Regions from separate parts of the Homo sapiens genome. Here region 2 is linked to region 1. Evidence: promoter capture Hi-C in human tissues and cell types (Jung and others, 2019). All regions are on one chromosome and are shown on one strand. Each heading gives the region's core, a stretch centred on a gene start or on the middle of the fragment in contact. The rest is flanking DNA. Distances are from core to core; before and after follow the strand shown.

Evidence for each region. Contacts are between HindIII fragments. The study calls those that stand out against the background at their distance.
Region 2: a fragment that was not itself captured here is called in contact with the fragment with the promoter of HEATR1 in region 1 in 1 of the 25 tissues and cell types used here (dorsolateral prefrontal cortex).

The regions. Positions count from the first base shown.
Region 1 is chr1:236,602,201-236,605,913 of GRCh38, forward strand. It overlaps HEATR1 (HEAT repeat containing 1), which reads right to left and starts at 2,316. Exons shown (of 45, transcript NM_018072.6): 1 at 2,222-2,316; 2 at 1,754-1,927; 3 at 960-1,176. The coding sequence starts at 1,895. RefSeq lists an enhancer at 2,257-2,516. The HindIII fragment of the contact is 3,901 bases long and covers 1-3,253 here.
Region 2 is chr1:237,668,278-237,671,611 of GRCh38, forward strand. All of the region lies in intron 58 of RYR2 (ryanodine receptor 2), which reads left to right. Among named protein-coding and RNA genes, the nearest start is that of MIR4428, 200 kb to the left of the region's middle. The HindIII fragment of the contact is 5,329 bases long and covers 1-3,334 here.

The DNA of each region.
Region 1 (3,713 bases), core at 1,066-3,565:
ACCAATATGTGAGAAAATAAACTAAGCTTACTGAGACAATTCCCAAAGCAGATAAAAGATCAGACCTTGGAAATAAACTTCAGCTGTATCCTAGCTCTGCCACTTACTAGCTGTGTGACTCAAGAAACTTAATCCCTCTAAGCCTCAGTTTTCTCAACTGTAAAACAAGGATAATACAAATAATCTCACCAGAGGAATGCTGTGAGAATTAAATGAGATAATGCAGATAAAGTGCTTACCAGGGCCTAGTGTATAAATGCTCAAAAACACATTAGCTATCATTGTTTTTCTCAAGCAATGGTATTTCAGAGGATAACATTGCCTGCTTCCCCAACCATCTTGTTATTTTGCCAAGAAAGCAGCTTAGTACTCACTGCCTCAAGTGTGCAGGAACAAGCTGTAATGGCAAAGTAGCATGGGCTCTTCAGAACTAACGAGGTTAGGCTGGGCGAGGTGGCTCACACCTGTAATCCCAGTATTTTGGGAGGCCGAGGCGGGTGGATCACCTGAGGTCAGGGGTTAAAGACCAGCCTGGCTAACACGGTGAAACTCCATCTCTACAAAAACACAAAACTCATCCAGGCATTATGGCAGGTGCCTGTAATCCCAGCTACTTGGGAGGCTGAGGTGGGAGAATCACTTGAACCTGGGAGGCAGAGGTTGCAGTGAGCCAAGATTTCAATATTGCACTCCAGCCTGAGTGCCCAGCAAGACTCTATCTCAAAAAAAAACTAATGAGGTTAGACCATTTACTCAAAATCACCAGTAGTTCTACTTTTCACTATCAACAAAAAAGAATTTAAAGGCAGAAGAGCATGCTTATCTCACACAATGGACATTGTATCAATCTCTTAATATACCTAATTTTTCAGCTTTAATTTGATAAGTTCTCAACTACTTAATTTTTTACAAGACCAAAGTGATTAACCCATAGTTATTTCTGTAATTCTATTAGCTACCTGTGAATCAACCACTCCAGACACTTCTGTGCTGGCTTAAGCAGGAAGTAAGGCGACAAGTGAATAAGGAATAATGAAATGTTTTCATCCAACTGTTTGTTTACTGCTTTGGTCTGAACACTTCGCTCCAAGGTTTTTGCTAGCTGACTGAACAACGGTGCTTCAAACTGCTCAAAGGAAGGATCAATTCCAAGCAACTCTTCCAGGCCAGTACATCCTAAATTTCAAAAAAGGCCAGTTTATTTAACAATTCTTCGTAAGCAAATTCATCCCACCCCTCTTTTACAGTTTTACTTACCCCTAAGAAGTTTCTGAATTCTTTAAGTACATATAATTTATAATACAGTCCCAAACACTGATTTCTAGTTTTCAACTTTTAGAGTAAATCCTATCTCATCTACTAGAACAGAAAGTACTTCGTGGCAGGGAACACTTTTTTTTTTTTTTTTTTGGATATCCCCTACAATAACTAGGCCAGTCCTCTGAGAGGACTTCTCCGTCACCCCAGTCACTGCCTCCATCCCCCTTTTAGCTGTTCTTCTCTTTGACATATTAGTTGACCTCTCTAATTTTGTTTCTTCATCTGTGAAATCCAGATACCTCTACTCATAAACATTTCAAGCACCAAGCACCTGACTGTTATGTTCTCTTTCCCTTAAAAATATACATCAACATGCTAGAAACTGCTAAGGAAGAGGACGGGACAGAAGAGAAAACAAGGGGAAAAAAAAAAAACAGTAACATCCAGAAAACAAACGCTTCCAAGAGCTTTTCTAAGTTAAAAGATGGCTCACCAATGGCGAAGGCGGTGTCCCTGTCGATTGTGGCCGCTTCCTTAGGGTCAAATAACAAAGAAGCAACTTCATCTCTAGATAAGAGGCTGGCATCACTTTGAGGGAGGGCGAGTCGTTGCAGCTGCTGGGCTAAGGACGTCATCTTTCACGCCAGCGGAGTTTTAATGACACGGGCTAAAAAAACGTAAGCACTTTGATAAGTTTCTACGAAATTATAAGGCGCCTCGTAAACAAACAATTCTCTTCTGCACTCAGCACCGTCATGGACACACAACGCGGGTGTCCTGAGATTTGTGGACCCCGGAGATGCAAAGACGATGGCAGCAGCGTTAACAACTAATTACAGTAGCGGCGACCGCGCCAAGGCTTTCCTTCAACCCTGATTCCGCAGATATCCGGAAAACTCTTACCCTCCCTCGATATGCCGCCCCCATCCGCAGCCACATCAAGCGGCTCTGTGCCGCTTACCTGGAACTGGGAATTTGGGTATATCTTGGAAGGCAACAACTCTTCACAGCGCTTCCCACATGGTACCAAGGAGCCCAACCCTCACCCGGAAACCTAAGGCATGCTGTAGAGCAACTTCCTGCTGCAGGCGCTACGGCAAGTGAAGAGGTTCAAGCTTGCCGGGAATGCGACGAGACAGCTCCGCCTCCCGAGACGAAAGCCCGCCCCTCAGCCCGCCGGACTCAGGCTCAAGTCTGAGCTTCGCCTCTGTAGCTCCGGTTTAGCGGTCTGCTCTGCGGCTTGTGTCTGAAGCTTTCGGTCTCTGGATGGGCCTTCTGTGGGCTTTAAGGATCCGTAGCCAGAATCATTCATTCAGTAGTGATCCAGCCTTTACTAGGTGCCAGCAGCACCGCGTAGTGTTGAAAGCTATGGGTTGTGAAGTCACGTGGTTTGGGTTCAAATCCTGGCGCTGGCGCCTGTCGGCCGGGTTAACGCCACCAAATTATTTCATCTCTCCGAGCTTGTTACTCACTCTACAAAGTGGGAAGAGGCCGAGATTGTCGTGAAAGGAGCTTCTGCTCCTAGTGCAAACCGATCTATAAATGCTGGACTCCACCGCCCCAGAGCTTGGGGGAGATCTTGTCACTCCTCTATGTTTCCATTCCCGAGGGGTAAATGGCATATATTTTTTTCTTTCAAAACGAATCATAGTCAGGCGCGGCCTGTAATCCGAGCACTTTGGGAAGCTCAGGCGAGCTGATCACCTGAGGTCAGGAGTTCGGGACCAGCCTGGCCAACATAGCGAAACCCCGTCTCTACTAAAAATAAAAGAATTAGCCGGACGTGGTGGCGGGCGCCTGTAATCCCAGCTACTAGGAAAGCTGAGACAGAAGAATCGCTGGAACCCGGGAGTCGGAGGTTGCAGTGGGCCAAGATTGCACCACTGCACTCCACAGAGCGAGACTGTCTCAATAAATAAATTAATCGAATCCTGTTGAGGTATAATTTACAAACAATGGTTACACCCACGTCAGTGGAAGAGTTTGATGACTTTTAGCAAATGCATGTATAGGTGTAATGACCTCCCCAGTCAAAATGACAGTTTCCATCGCCCCTAAAAATTGTCTCTTGCCTGTTTGCGAAGATTCCCGCAACCACTGGTCTTGGCCTCACTACAGATAGTGTTGCGGAAGAGTATCCTTATGTATGAATATAGCTAATCTGTTTCCAAAACACCGGTATGCGCTAGAACTAGGATGAACTGACGTCTTCCAGACGAAGGAGTGAGATCTGATGCTCTGTCTTTTCTGGATGCATTAATTTCTCTGAAGAGCTCTGCGGGGCCAGGGGGTCAAGTCTTTCTGTAACCGTCTTCCCTGGAGAATGTCAGAAACACAGCTACAAATTTGGAGGCCCTGGTTGTCTATACCTCATGCAGATTCTCTCCCATTTACAAACAGAATCTTTTGTTGTTGGTTTGCTTTAAAAGCATTTAAAACAACCAAATATTTTC
Region 2 (3,334 bases), core at 480-2,979, 1.1 Mb after region 1:
CCTATCTCACCCCTTTTTATTTCCTATCTCAGCCTCTTTTGTCTGGTCCAGCTATGTTACTGTCTCTTACATGCTTTTGCTTGCACTTTTCCCGTTTTTTTATTCAAATACTAAATGAACTAATGTTCTCTTAGTTATTTCTCAAGTCTTTTAAAATTTATTTGCATATTTTCTTCAGTTTAACGTATGCTATGCTGATGATATCTTTCAACATTATTTATTTGCCGTTAGTCTATACACATATTGTTTATAATGTGGTGTCTGTGTGTGTGCGCGCATATGCGCTGTCGTTAATGACTTCCTATATGGTTTTCTTTCCCCTGATAGGAATATACTATTTTCGAGCTCAGGGCCACAACATTTATTTCTTTTGTAATCCTTATTGTATAGTTACAGGTGCCAATAAAGCTTCTACTTTTTATTTATTTGACTAGGTGAAAATGTAGAAGGGGAGAAGATTTTGAAAGTGGGGATATTTCATGGTGAAAGGTAAAGCTGTGATATGGAAGGATGGTACCTGGCACCAAGCACTAGGAAACAGAGTAACACAAATTAGGATTGGTCACAGAGAGGAAAAGAGAAGATTCCACATTTTATTTTTTATTTTTTTTATTTTTTATTGATCATTCTTGGGTGTTTCTCGCAGAGGGGGATTTGGCAGGGTCATAGGACAATAGTGGAGGGAAGGTCAGCAGATAAACAAGTGAACAAAGGTCTCTGGTTTTCCTAGGCAGAGGACCCTGCGGCCTTCCGCAGTGTTTGTGTCCCTGGGTACTTGAGATTAGGGAGTGGTGATGACTCTTAACGAGCATGCTGCCTTCAAGCATCTGTTTAACAAAGCACATCTTGCACCGTCCTTAATCCATTTAACCCTGAGTGGACACAATACATGTTTCAGAGAGCACAGGGTTGGGGGTAAGGTCACAGATCAACAGGATCCCAAGGCAGAAGAATTTTTCTTAGTACAGAACAAAATGAAAAGTCTCCCATGTATACTTCTTTCTACACAGACACGGCAACCATCTGATTTCTCAATCTTTTCCCCACCTTTCCCCCCTCTCTATTCCACAAAACCGCCATTGTCATCATGGCCCGTTCTCAATGAGCTGTTGGGTACACCTCCCAGACGGGGTGGTGGCCTGGCAGAGGGGCTCCTCACTTCCCAGTAGGGGCGGCCGGGCAGAGGCGCCCCTCACCTCCCGGACGGGGCGGCTGGCCGGGCGGGGGGCTGACCCCCCCCACCTCCCTCCCGCACGGGGCGGCTGCCGGGCGGAGGGGCTCCTCACTTCTCAGACGGGGCAGTTGCCAGGCAGAGGGTCTCCTCACTTCTCAGACGGGGCGGCCGGGCAGAGACGCTCCTCACATCCCAGACGGGGCGGCAGGGCAGAGGCGGTCCCCACATCTCAGAGGATGGGCGGCCGGGCAGAGACGCTCCTCACTTCCTAGATGTGATGGCGGCTGGGAAGAGGCGCTCCTCACTTCCTAGATGGGATGGCGGCCGGGCAGAGACGCTCCTCACTTTCCAGACTGGGCAGCCAGGCAGAGGGGCTCCTCACATCCCAGATGATGGGCGGCCAGGCAGAGACGCTCCTCACTTCCCAGACGGGGTGGCGGCCGGGCAGAGGCTGCAATCTCGGCATTTTGGGAGGCCAAGGCAGGCGGCTGGGAGGTGGAGGTTGTAGCGAGCCGAGATCACGCCACTGCACTCCAGCCTGGGCACCATTGAGCACTGAGTGAACGAGACTCCGTCTGCAATCCTGGCACCTCCAGAGGCCGAGGCTGGCGGATCACTTGCGGTTAGGGGCTGGAGACCGGCCTGGCCAACACAGCGAAACCCCGTCTCCACCAAAAAAATACGAAAACCAGTCAGGCGTGGCGGCGCGCGCCTGCAATCGCAGGCACTCGGCAGGCTGAGGCAGGAGAATCAGGCAGGGAGGTTGCAGTGAGCCGAGATGGCAGCTGTACAGTCCAGCTTCGGCTCGGCATCAGAGGGAGACCGTGGGGAGAGGGAGACTGTGGGGAGAGGGAGACTGGAGAGGGAGAGGGAGAGGGAGAGGGAGACGGGAGAGGGAGAGGGAGAGGGAGAAGATTCCACATTTTTAATTGCCTATTTCAAAATGCTGCTCAGGGATAATATGCCTGTATTCTAAAACCACCCCATAAATGTTTGTTAAATGAATGATTAATTCATTGTTTGGCTCATGGATGCATGGATGAATGGATGGATGGCAAATGAGTCATAGAGTTTTGTTTTGTGAAATTCTTGACAGGGTATTGCCCACATAACTGGTAAACAAAATCACTGCTTATTACATGAGCAGATTACATGAAAAAATGTCTGTTCCTTTTTTTAAACTATGTTTAAGTCACTGTGGTACAGTTAAATTAAAAATAATAAGCAGCTATCTTATTACAGGTTGATTATCCCTTATCCAAAATGTTTGGAACCAAAACTGTTTGAAAGTTGAGATTTTTTTCTGATTTTTTAAATATTTGCATATACTTACTGGTTCAGCATCCCAAATCCCAAATCCAAAAGCTTAAATGCTCCAATAAGTGTTTCCTTTGAGCATCATGTAGATACTCAAAAAGTTTCTGATTTTGGAACATTTGGATTTCAGATTTTTAGATTAGACCTATTCAACCTATATGCTTTTCTAAATAAGCATGATAGAAAATCATCATTATTTAAATTTCTGAGCCAGATCGATATTTTCTTTAAGTCATACCACTCGTAAATGGCACATCCATACTTCTGCATACAACTTGTACTGGCTCAAATTTGTATTCTGTAGTTGGGAAACTAACCTAGTGGCAGCAGACTAAGTGGTGAGGTAGGGGAAATTAGTCCTCGCAGTCTTTAATTCTCTTACTGCATGTATGGATCTCATTTTTAAAGAGGAACTAGTTTAGAACCAAAATGGCAGACCAGTAGGAAACGTGTTGAACTATACAGTCAGGATCCTGGCTTTTAGGTTATTGAGATTAGCAAACCAGAGAAATGAGTCTTGGGCATAGAAGATAGGTTACAGACTGTGGCCAGTTTCAGAGCAGAAACGACATGTGTCTTTTTTTCAAAGTTGTTTTCTCACTCAGAGACATTAATAGTGGGGAGGATCCTTATAGCCAACAGTTGTAGGCAGTTGCATCCTGCCAGCTCTACTCCCACTGCCGATAAGAGGTAGGTGGGAGGAATCTGTCACCACCTGATGTCTTGGTGCCTGGGTGTGTGTGTGTGTGTGCGTGTGTGTGTGTGTGTGTGCGTGTGAGAGAGAGAGAAATAGAAATAAGAAGTCAGAAACACTAAAAGAATCAGGGCCAAAGCTGCACAGTT